2 separate regions of the Homo sapiens genome follow, and region 2 is linked to region 1. Evidence: promoter capture Hi-C in 16 types of primary human blood cells and fetal thymus (Javierre and others, 2016). All regions are on one chromosome and are shown on one strand. The core of a region is centred on a gene start or on the middle of the fragment in contact, and the rest is flanking DNA. Distances in the headings are between cores, read along the strand shown.

What was found. Contacts are between HindIII fragments. The CHiCAGO score rates a contact against its expected background, and 5 or more counts as called.
Region 2: a fragment that was not itself captured here is called in contact with the fragment with the promoter of CCDC32 in region 1 in 1 of 17 cell types (M2 macrophages); the score reaches 5.2 in M2 macrophages.

Annotation. Positions count from the first base shown.
Region 1 is chr15:40,561,231-40,567,290 of GRCh38, reverse strand. CCDC32 (coiled-coil domain containing 32) reads left to right here and starts at 2,249. Exons shown (of 4, transcript NM_001080792.4): 1 at 2,249-2,315; 2 at 4,264-4,519. The coding sequence starts at 4,276. RefSeq lists a silencer at 1-74 and enhancers at 1,027-1,321, 1,801-1,850. The HindIII fragment of the contact is 7,257 bases long and covers 1,819-6,060 here.
Region 2 is chr15:41,011,020-41,017,069 of GRCh38, reverse strand. INO80 (INO80 complex ATPase subunit) reads left to right here. Exons shown (of 36, transcript NM_017553.3): 27 at 855-982. INO80-AS1 (INO80 antisense RNA 1) reads right to left here and starts at 270. Exons shown (of 5, transcript NR_170322.1): 1 at 235-270. The HindIII fragment of the contact is 2,553 bases long and covers 3,033-5,585 here.

The DNA.
Region 1 (6,060 bases), core at 1,000-3,499:
GCTCTATCTCTTAGACAGAGGCTTTGGTTCAGAGGCACACAGCCGCGGAAGCAGGCTCAGTGTGAAATCCGTGTCTAACAAGGTAGCATTGGAGGCATCTAATCTGGGAGGCCAACAGTCGGGGAGGTTCTTGTGTCAAGTACCCAATCGACGAATAATGCCAGCTATAGATGTTCAGTGGCTGTGGGGTGTTCCCTGAGCAGTCTCTCAGTGAGATTCAGATACTGTCCCTGGCTGTATAGACCTAAAGCCTGACTCTCCACTCACCTTGAGGTTCTGTGAACTATGTAATATTCTCCAATCCTGTGCTATACAATAGGATCACCATTAGCCATGTGCTGTACAATAGCCACATGTGGCTAATTAAATTTAAATTAATTAAAATTTTAACAAGTTTTGAAACAAGATCTCACTCCCATCACCCAGGCTGGAGTGCAGTGGCACGATTTTGGCTCACTGCAGCCTTGACTTCCCAAACTGAAGTGATCCTCCCACCTCAGGCTCCCTAGTAGCTGAGACGACAGACATGTGCCACCATGACTGGCTAATTTTTTGTATTTTTAGTAGAGACGAGGTTTTGCCACATTGCCTAGGGTGGTCTCAAACTGGGCTCAAACAATCCATCCACCTTGGCCTCCCAAAGTGTTAGGATTACAGGCCGGATGTGGTGGCGCAACCTCCGCCTCCTGGGTTCAAGTAGTTCTCCTACCTCAGCCTCCTGAGTAGCTGGGATTACAGGCATGCGCCTCCACGCCCAGTTAATTTTTGTATTTTTAGTAGAAACAGGGTTTCACCATGTTGGCCAGGCTGGTCTCGAACTGCTGATCTCAGGTGATCCACACCCCCTCAGCCTCCCAAAATTCTGGGATTACAGGCATGAGCCACCAAGCCCGGCCAGGAACTGAATTTTAAATTGTATTTTAGCTGGGCGCAGTGGCTCACATCTGTAATCCTAAAACTATGTTGTTTTTGTTGTTGTTGTTTTCTTTTTCTTTCTTTCTTTTTTTTTTTGAGACGGAGTCTTGCTCTGTCACCCAGGCTGGAGTGAGAACTATTTCCTCAGCCAAGTTACTTGGCTACTGATGGTTGGCTGATGTCTTTCATCACGTGTTTCTTGGGAGAGAGTAACTGGTGTTGATCCTGGAAGCTGGGGATGGGGAGGGGTCGATCTCAATGAACAAGCTGGTATCTATCCCCTGAAGGATATCAAAGGTCATCTCCTTTAACAACTACAACAACAAAGCATTCTGACACACACTTCTTATGACCACTCTCTCCTTTATGTACTCTGGCCACACTTCCATCATATACTCTATAATCCTCAACGCCCCCCTCCTTTTTTTTTTTTGAGACAGTCTTGCTCTGTTGCCCAGGTTGGAATGCAGTGGTGCGATCTTGTCTCACTGCAACCTCTGCCTTCCCGGTTCAAGCGATTCTCCTGCCTGAGCCTCCCGAATAGCTAGGATTCCAGGCATGTGCCACCATGCTCAGCTAATTTTTGTACTTTTAGTAGAGACAGAGTTTCACCATGTTTCACCCAGGCTGGTCTCGAACTCCTGACCTCAGGTGATCCACCTGCCTCGGCCTCCTAGAGTACTGGGATTACAGGCGTGAGTCACCGCGCCCGGCTGTCTATCACTGTTTACTGTTATTTGTAAACTTTTATGCCTCCATGGCGGACCCCCTTCCTACACTACTAAGCTGTAAGGATCTCCAGGACTTATATCAAGTCATATGTGTCTTAACTTCACGCTTAACACAATGCTTAGAACACAGCAGGTGCTTGGTATCTATTGACTAAATGAATGAAGGAAAGCTTCATAATTTGATGAATGAGACACGAGTCTCCTGGGAGAGTAAGGAAAGAAGCCGCCGAAGTGCTCTAATTTGGGTAACGAAGGGGTGAAATTTTTAGAAGACAAACACCGACAGAGAAAGTTGTGGAGGAGGTGAACTGGCTCCGGCGACTAGGAAAAGTCAAAAGTCTTGGAAACGACTTCCCTATCCAAGCAGGGACTGGAACCCTGGATCTGCAAGGAATCAACCTGGCCCTCGGGAGGGGAGGGGCAATGCTCAGGGCACGTGACTCCACCGTTTCCCGGCAACCAGAGCCCCGTCCACCGCTCGCCTCTTGCTGCTCCTCACTTCTTCACCACGCTGAGCTCCTCTCGACCAATCGACGCACAGAACATCGTCGGGTGGGAAGGTAGTTGGAGGACTCCTGGGCTCCGTCACTAGGGGACTCCGCCCCTCCCGATTTCCTCCGGGCTACAGGCGACAGAGCTGAGCCAAGCGTTTACTGGGCAGCTGTTACGGTAAGTGAGGAGGGGCTGGGGTGCCCAGCGTTTTGGATCTCCCACTCTGGCCCGGCCCCGGAATACCACATAGAGGCCTTGGGACCTGATTCATCCCGTCCAGACAGCCCTAGAGACCTGAGCGACTGAGGCCTGGGATCTGGACGCCGGAATTTCCTGCGTGGTTCTGGACGCCCTGCCCTGGGGTAAGGGGCCATGCGGGGCTCTGGTGTGAGCAAAGTTTTGGTTTTGGGTGGCTTTAGACGAATTCGGGTTGGGGGTTCACTGTAGCGCTAGACATCAGTTCACCCAGGACCGCCGTGTCATAGCTGTCCCTTTTACTTCCGGCCTTTACGCTGGCTGGGCTCTGTCTCCTGGCATTATTCAGACCTTGCCTCAGGCAGCCTTCCTGATTTCTAAGTCTCCTCTTGAAAGAAGGTGTCAGCCTGTCTCATATGCCTAGATAGTTATAAAAGCCTCCAGGCTCTTTGCGTAGCTTTTCCTACCTGCCCGTGCTTGGGCTGCTTTCGTTATATTTTCCAAACAAGCAGGATGGTATTTGATAAAAACATGGATTCTGGAGCAGCACAGATCTGGTTTTCCTGTCAAGGATTCCCCACATATCAGTAATGTGCCCTAGAGCAAGTTACCCTTCTGAACTTGTTTTTTCATCTGTAAAATGGTGAAAATACCTACCTTTCAGTGATTGTATTAAAATAAGAGCATGAGACATACGGCTGAACTGCATGCGCTGAGCACACAGCCCTTGCATTGTAACAGTACTCTCTGACAGACACTTTTTACCAAGCAGGATCTTCATGTATATGGAACTGTGGAAAGACCTTTAGTCTGTGTTCTGTTGAAAACAGAATTTAGGGGCCGGGCGCGGTGGCTCACGCCTGTAATCCCAGCACTTTGGGAGGCCGAGGCGGGCGGATCACAAGATCAGGAGATCGAGACCACCCTGGCTAAACGGTGAAACCCCGTCTTTACTAAAAAATGCAAAAAATTAGCCGGGCGTGGTGGCGAGTGCCTGTAGTCCCAGCTATTTGGGAGGCTGAGGCAGGAGAATGGCGTGAACCCGGGAGGCGGAGGTTGCAGTGAGCCAAGTTAGCGCCACTGCACTCCAGCCTGGGCGACAGAGCGAGACTCTGTCTCAAAAAAAAAAAAGAAAGAAAGAAAGAAAAAAAAACAGAATTTAATTGACTGGAGATAGAACTGTTGCATTTTGGAGATCTTTGGAGAAAAGTGCAGGCTGGTTGTCCAACCTGGAAATGCCCTACAGATTTGTGTGTGTGTGTGTGTGTGTGTGTGTGTGTTAAAATATATGTAGCATAAAATTGACCATTTTAACTATTTTTGTGTGTATGATTCAGTGGTGTTCACATTGTTGTGCAACCATAACTACCATCCACCTCCAGAACTTTTTCATTTTCCCAAACTGAAACTGTGTACCCATTAAACAGTAATTCCCCATTCTTTCTACCTCCCAGCCCCCAGCTCCCACCATCCTATTTTCTGTATCTATGAATTTGACTACTCAGGTACCTTATATAAGTGGAATCACAGTATCTGCCTTTTGTGTATGGCTTGTAGGAATTCCATTTTTATTTTTATTTTATTTATTTATTTGTGAGACAGGGCCTCGCAATGTCACCCAGGCTGGAGTGCAATGGCGTGATCACCACTCACTGCAGCCTCTATCTCCTGGGCTAAGGTGATCCTCCTACCTCAGCCTCCGGAGTAGCTGGGACTACAGGCATGTGCCACCACACCTGTCTAATTTTTGTATTTTTAGTAGAGATGGGATTTTGCCATGTTTCCCAGGCTGGTCTCGAACTGCTGGCCTCAAATGATCTGACTGCCTCGGCTTCCCAAAGTGTTGGGATTACAGTCGTGAGCCACTGTGCTCAACCTTATGCTGTATTCTTAAAGCCAGTTCTTACTCACTTGAGCTTCTGTTTTATAGCTCAGATTCCAAATGAAAATGTTTGAGAGCGCTGACTCTACAGCCACAAGATCTGGCCAGGATCTCTGGGCTGAAATTTGTTCCTGTCTGCCAAATCCTGAACAAGAAGATGGTGCCAACAATGCATTCTCAGACTCCTTTGTGGATTCTTGCCCTGAAGGTGAAGGCCAGAGGGAGGTGGCTGACTTTGCTGTCCAGCCAGCTGTAAAGCCTTGGGCTCCCTTGCAGGATTCAGAAGTGTATTTAGCATCTCTAGGTAAGTTTGACGGCTCTAGGGAAGCATATTGAAGTTCTGTTACATCAAACTTGGTTTCCTATTCTTTTGTGTTGTTGTTATTCCTGTCACACGTATCTGTCAGATATAATTCCAAGGGATGTTTCAAGCCGGCTGTTGGGAAGCAGCCCCCTTTTCCTTGAACAGATCTTTTTTTATTTTTATTTTTAATTTTTTGAGACTTTCACTCTTGTTGCCCAGGCTGGAGTGCAGTGGCGTGATCTTAGCTCATGGCAACCTCCACCTCCCGGGTTCAAGCGATTTTCCTGCCTCAGCCTACCGAGTAGCTGGGATTACAGGCGCCTGGCACAATGCCCGGCTAATTTTTTGTATTTTTAGTAGAGATGGGGTTTCATTTCACCATGTTGGCTAGGCTGGTCTCGAATGCCTGACCTCAGGTGATCCACCTGCCTCGGCATCCCAAAGTGCTGGGATTACAGGCATGAGCCGCCGTGACTACCCGAACAGCTCTTAAAACAGTTTTTGTCACTTCCTGCCTCTGCCCAGTTCATCTAAATTCTGTGTTTGATTTCTTGGCATTCTGTAGAACCCTCTTGCCTACTGTTGGTTGCCCGTATATTCAAATAACTCAAAAGTGTTAAACCTTATGCCATCCTGCAAGAAAATGTGATGGCCCCAGGGCTACATGTGGATTTCTGATGCTGGAGTTTGAAAAACTTACATAAATAGATTGATTGTTGAGAATGGGAGCATATTGACATAAGATTCATTCTGCCTCTTGTTAGCCATTTTATTTTAAAAATATTTCCTGAACACATTTTCAGTACCCTGTCCTGCGGCCATAGTATAAGTATCTAGAGAGATTCCAAACACAGGAAAGAGATTCAAATTGTCCCATGCTAGGGGAAAAAGAAATATCAGTCTAGGGCGGTGAGGGGCAGTCTTTAGAATTGTAATATCCTTTTATTGTGGAACAACCATGAGATTCATCCATGTTTCACAAAGCCAAACCTGGGAATAAGGCTTACCTTGGCCTCCTGAAGTGCTGGGATTACAGGCGTGTGCCACCGCGCTTGGCCCTAATTTTTTTATTTCAATAGCTTTTGGTGTACAAGCGGTTTTTGGCTACATGGATTAATTGTATAGTGGTGAAGTCTGAGATTTTAGTGCACCCATCACCCAAGTAGTGGACATTGTACCCAATGTGTAGTTTTTTATCCCTCACCCCTCTCCAAACCTCCCCACTTCTGAATCTCCAAAGTCCAGTATACCACTTTGTGTTTTGTTTTTTTTTTGGTTGTTGTTTTGTTTTTTTTTTTTGAGACGGAGTCTCATTCTGTTGCCCAGGCTGGAATGCAGTGGCACGATCTCGACTCACTGCAACCTCCGCCTCACGGGTTCAAGCAATTCTGCTGCCTCAGCCTCCTGAGTAGCTGGGATTACAGTCGCCCACCACCACGCCTGGCTCATTTTTGTATTTTCAGTAGATAGAGAGTTTCACCATGTTGGTCAGAGTGGTCTCGAACTCCTGACTTCGTGATCCACCCACCTCGGCCTCCCAG
Region 2 (6,050 bases), core at 3,060-5,559, 450 kb before region 1:
CAACTAGGGTTAACGACATTTACCAGTCAACCTATTTGCAGTCCTCCAAGAGAGCTAGTTTTGGGTTTAAAAAAAAAAAAGGGTAGGGGGGCTGGGTACCATGGCTCAGCACTTTAGGAGGCTGAGCTGGGAGGATCCCTTGAGCCCAGGAGTTCAAGACCAGCCTAGGCAATATGGCAATACCCTGTTTCTACAAAAAAAGAGAAACAAAATTAACTGGGTGTGATAGCTCACTTGTAGTCCAAGCTACTCAGGAGGCTGAGATGGGAGGATCACTTGAGCCCAGGAGGTCGAGGCTGCCATGAGCTGTCATTGCGCTGCTGCATTCCAGCCTGGGTGACAGAGTGGAACCCTGTCTTGAAAAAGGGAAAAAAAAGAGAGAGGTTATAAATCTCTTTGTTTACTTTTCTCCAAAGGCAGGTAGGATACGTTCTCAATGCTTTCAGAACTAGCAGAAACAGATATCTAGAGATAGGATGAACAAAGAAAAAACAAAATTTTCAGGTCACTTAACAGCAGATTGACATAGATGTCACCCATAGATGTCCATGTATACCTGGTGTCCTCTGAGTAAGGATGTGGAGCAGGGATGCTTTTAAGTGCCTTAAGAGCACATGTCTGATTGGGAGTGATCAGGGAATCTGCACTTCCCCCTTTGGGGATGTTTTTTCCCAGGGCACTCCTGGAGTCGTGATATTTTCAGGGCGTTGCATTCTCCCTTTAGAGCACTTTTCTGATCTCATGATGACAAGCATCTTGGTTTTAGTGATTGTGGTTGCATACAGCTTTGCATTGAGTGATTTTGTCGCTTCAATTAAATACAGTTCCCCCTCACCCCCTTTTCTTCTCCCCAGGCAAGGAGAGCCTCATCACTGACAGTGGAAAGCTGTATGCCCTTGATGTCCTGCTGACTCGGCTCAAGTCTCAAGGGCATAGGGTCCTTATCTACTCCCAGATGACCAGGATGATAGACCTACTGGAGGTAGGAGAGGGAATCTTGGGGACCTAGGATACCTTGACATTTAATTTGTAGGAATCAGATGTCCATGACTAATGTTAGTCCTGCTTAATGGGAGCCCCAAAACTCCCTTTTGTCTTTTTTCTTTTTCCTTTTTTTTTTTTTTTGAGACAGAGTCTCACTCTATCACCCAGGCTGGAGTGCAGTGATGCGATCTCGGCTCTGCAACCTCTGCCTTCCAGGTTCAAGGAATTCTTCTGCTCCAGTCTCCCGAGTAGCTGGGATTACAGGCGTGCACCACCACACTCAGCTCTTTTTTTTTTTTTTTTTTTTTTTTAAGTAGAGATGGGGTTTCGCCATGTTAGCCAGGCTGGTCTTGAACTCCTGGCCTCAAGTGATCCACCCACCTCAGCCTCTCAAAGAGTTGGGATTACAGGCATGAGCCACCACACGCAGCCCCCAAAACTCCTTTTTTTGATTTTACAATCTATAAAGGGAGCAGAGTTAGCTCCTGGCATGGGGAGTATGTGAAGGACTTCTGCCCCCTGCCCTACACCAGTGAAATAGAACACCCCTTACATCCTTTTACTAGGGAAGACATTTCTTAATTTTAAAGTAGGTCACAGCCTAGGAATCTAAAATTATGTATGGAAAACAAGATTTAGGATTAGTTCTCTGCGTAAAAAAGCAGAGAACAGCTATTCAACCTGAGTTAATATAGTGATTCTCAACTTGACTACATATCGCAATCACCTGAGAAGCTTTAAAAAAATATGGATTTCTAGTCCTATTTCCAGAGATTCTTATTTATTACATTTGAAATGAGGCCTGGGCATCAGGATATTTAAAAGGTCCTGGGGTGATTCTAATATGCAACCAGGCTTGACAGCTACTAAGTTAGTGGAAAAGATATGACTGTGCAAGGCAGCTTTTGTTTCTTTAATTGCTTCTTTGTTGAAGTTTTTCTTTTTCTTGTCTGAGTGGTGACTTATTTTTTAAGGGACAGGAGGTCACAGACCTAGAAACAGGAGAGTGAAAATGAGAACAGATAATCACAAACTAGTACAATAAGTCTTTATATAAATAAAGTTTGAGAGGCAGAAGTACCTGGTTGTCAGAAGTACATAAATGTTCTCATGTTTTTACATGTGTAAGGCTTCATACCCTCGCCCTGCTACACCAGGGAATCGTAATAAGTAAGTGGAAATTGTACTGTTATTTTCCTTATCTAGGAATAAAGCAATAGGGACCATATCAGTACAGAAGGAATGAAGGCTAGCATTAAGGAGGGTTTTCAGGCTTTTTGGAAGCCAAGATTGGCTTGTTGAATTTTGCAATGAATTTATCTGAAATCAGTGGGAGGTTTCTTTTAATAATCCGGCAACTTCTTTTAGCAAGAGACATAAATGATTTTTGGGGTCAGTTTCAGCACTAAGTCTTAGGTTTCATAGCCCCTTGAATGCTGTTGACAGACTAAACTCTCTGGTTTGTATTATGAGTAGGCCACTTATTCCTAAATGATGGAAGTGCTTATGAGTGAATGTAAGTCACCATAAGAGAGGTGATTAAGCTGTTGTGTTTGATGTATATATTAACTATGTTAAATATCCTAACAGTAGTAATCCAAAATAAAAGGACTGCCTGCATGTCTAGTGTTCTGTTCAAACAGATGATCCCAACAGCCAAAACAACATGAGTAACTTTTCCTGCAGTGGGGCTCTTTTTAGGTAAAGTGCACTTTCCTTGTCCTCAAGAGGCAGGGAAAGTATAGCTAAAGTAGTGATCTTCAGCTGCTAACAATTAAAGAAAAAGCAGTATGCTAAGGATACTGGTAAGGGACATAATGGTATTTCTTTTCCAAGACTATAGTCTTACATGTTGATTCATATGAAAGGAAAGTTCCAAGGGAATGTGAATGAGCAATCCAAAAATAAACTAGCTTCGGTAGGTGAAGGTGAGTGTAGGTGGTTTAAGTTTGATACAGCCTTTATTATAGTCCTTCCCTCGGTGTATCGCACACTTCTAGGTTCTCATTAAATATTACTAAAATAAGTAATTCAGAGTATGATAAGCTTTGTTCAGGATAAGTGCTGTAAACTCTACCCACCAGGATCACTTCCTCTCTATCTATAATCCAACAGTTATTTTTGGGTTATGGACCTAGTGGGTAGGTTTTGCAAACAAGCAGCTTGAGAACCTCTCTAAACATAGATGTATTTCTAAGGGGAATTCCAAATTAGGGAAATGCAAATTCAAAGCCTGAATTTCACAACTGCTGACATTGCTTAGCCATATGTATAACATGCATCTTGGATGTTGAAACCAGAAAATGTTGCAACTATTTGTATGTTTTAAAAACTAAAATGAAATTCTTCTCTGGTTTCCTTAATACTACACTAATGGTTCTTCCTTTAATTTCTTAAAGTTTATTCATTTTTAATTTGTTTTAATATTACCCACTCAAATGAACCACATTCTGTATTCCAGGAGATTAGTACTGAAATAGAATTTAATTTATGAGCATGGAATTACAATGCCCAAAGTGTTTACCATATATTTAATCATTGATTGAAATATAAACATATTGTACGACTTGAGATGGTGCAGCACTAGGTCTGCGTTTTTTTATCTTTGAAAGAGTGTTTTTCAGTCACTTTCATAATAGAAACTCTGAGTATTAACATTCATTAAAGCCATGTTTCAGCATTAAAGCATGACCTGGTACATGATCTTGCAGTGGGACCTTCTGAATAGATCCTGTCCATTGAGTATACTTGATCTTAAGAAAAAACACAAACTTAAGTCTCAAAATGTTGGTTGTTTTGTTTTTATTTCAGGATTTTCCTTTTTCTCTTGAAATCGTATACCCTCTTCAAAGAGAGAAAGAAATGCTTCCAATAGAGTAAGAGTTAGAAACTCACATTGCGGGTATCAAAGCTCTGTGTTGCTGTGGAGTATGTGAGCAACTCTCTTTCATCCAACAGCCTTTTTGGGTTTTTGTTGTGGTGGTTGTTGTTGTTGTTGTTGTTGTTGTTGTTATGTGCCTTAGCCATGGCTGGCTGTCTGTTTCTGGGACTTGGCAGAACTAGAAGACATTAAGAATTCACATACTTCTCTATGGCCAGGTTTCCATTCTGTGAGAAATACTAGTTTTGGACATTACTATTTGCACAGTATTTTTTAAAGTCATTGATCGCTTCCTTTTTCCCTTGGGTAAAAATCTGACTTTAAATTTCTTGTGTATATATCAGATCTTCTTCCAAATAGACTATATTCAGAAATGTTGTATTCTTTCACATGGCATCCAAATAGTAGTATTTCTAGATAGGGGATTTTTAAAAGGAGAGTGCTTTTGCTGTAACAAATGGGCACTAAGAAAAACAAAAATAGTGAAGAGGAGACTGCTTAATTTCCAAGCCAGGAGTTTTTAGTTTGCCACGGGCAGAAGCCAAGGACATAAATAGGTGAGGAAATCATAGATCAATAAATGTCATTATGAGTTTATTTTATATTTACTGAATCGCCTATAGGATCTTTTTTTTTTTTTTTTAAAAAGAGTCTCGCTCTGTCACCCAGGCTGGAGTGCAATGGCGGGATCTCAGCTCACTGCAACCTCCAGCTGCCGGGTTCAAGCAATTCTTCCTCAGCCTCCAGAGCAGCTGGGATTTCAGGCGCGCATCACCACGCCTGGCTAATTTTTGTATTTTTGTAGAGATGGGGTTTCACCATGTTGGCCAGGCTGGTCTCAAACTCCTGACCTCAAGTAATCCTCCCATCTTGGCCTCCCAAAGTGTTGGGATTACAGGCGTGAGCCACCACGCCTGGCCACCTATAGGATCTTGGCTGTTGGGCATACTAGGGGAACACATAATCCCTGTGCATTTGGGATGGTGGTATCCAGCTGGATGTCAGGCAGAACTTTTCCTGCTACCACCAGTTTTACCATGGTTAGGGACTCTTCTCTGTATTCTAGTAGCAAAGAGCTTTTAACTTATTACAGATGACTTATCTCTGAGTCTTCTCTTTTGAGTTTCATTCCTATTGCATCTAGCAACTGAGTTTGTAGTTTAAGGAAATAGGCCACTTGATACTTCCTATACAATAAAGAGTACTTGGAAAGAGTTAATCAGCTTATGCTATATGTGGTGTAATTGTTAAATACTGAAATCCAGACAAATCTTGAACTCTACCAACATATGATAATAGTGTAATATAGAATTAAATCCAGGTAATCCATACATAATGACATTTGAGACCCTGGGTTGTGTAACTTGCTCAGTCATCTATCCAAGCGCAGTGCCTCACTGGGGGAAGATTTATCCTGAGCAGACATTCTGTCATTTATGAGTTGGCCTCTCTTAGAAATGCAGGTTACCTTTGGAAGCTGTGATTCTGAAGATACTGGGAAGCTGGGTATTCTGAAAATGCCCCATGGAATGAAAAGCAAATTGGATTGGCACACTTGATATCTTAAGTTGCCTTCTTGGCCTTCTTCCAAGTGTACTTTACTTCCTTTCAAAAAAAAAAAAAGAAAGAAAATTGGGGCCACTGTTAACTAGAGTTCTTATTAGGTCTTAAGAATTGTAGAAGGAAATTTGTCAGCTTACAACCATGCTGTGTATAAGCTTTTTTAAATTCTTTTTTCCTCCATGCTACCTTTGAGCAAGGCATTAATGCTAGGCAGATGCAAATATTAGTTAGACGTGATGTTTGACTTTAAGGAATCTATTTAGTGGAGGAGACATATACATACACAAATACCTGTCAGTGTACCCTGATACTAATGTCAAAATGAAGCGTGAACAGAGCTGAGGATAGCAAGAAGGATATGTTTATTTCTAACTGAGTCACTCTTGAGGAAAGCATCACAAAGACAGTGGCATCTGAACTTAAGAACAAATAGAATTTCAACCATCAGGGAGAAAGGAATTTGAGACTAAGGAAGCCAGATGTAAAAAGAGAGATAGAAAGGTACAAGAGTAGTCCATTGTGACTGGAACATATGGCATAGAAGAAAGGGAAATAACAGGAGTAGGTTGAAGTCAGATTATTTTGGGCCCATGATTGCCTTTTGCTAGTCTTGCTCCAAAGG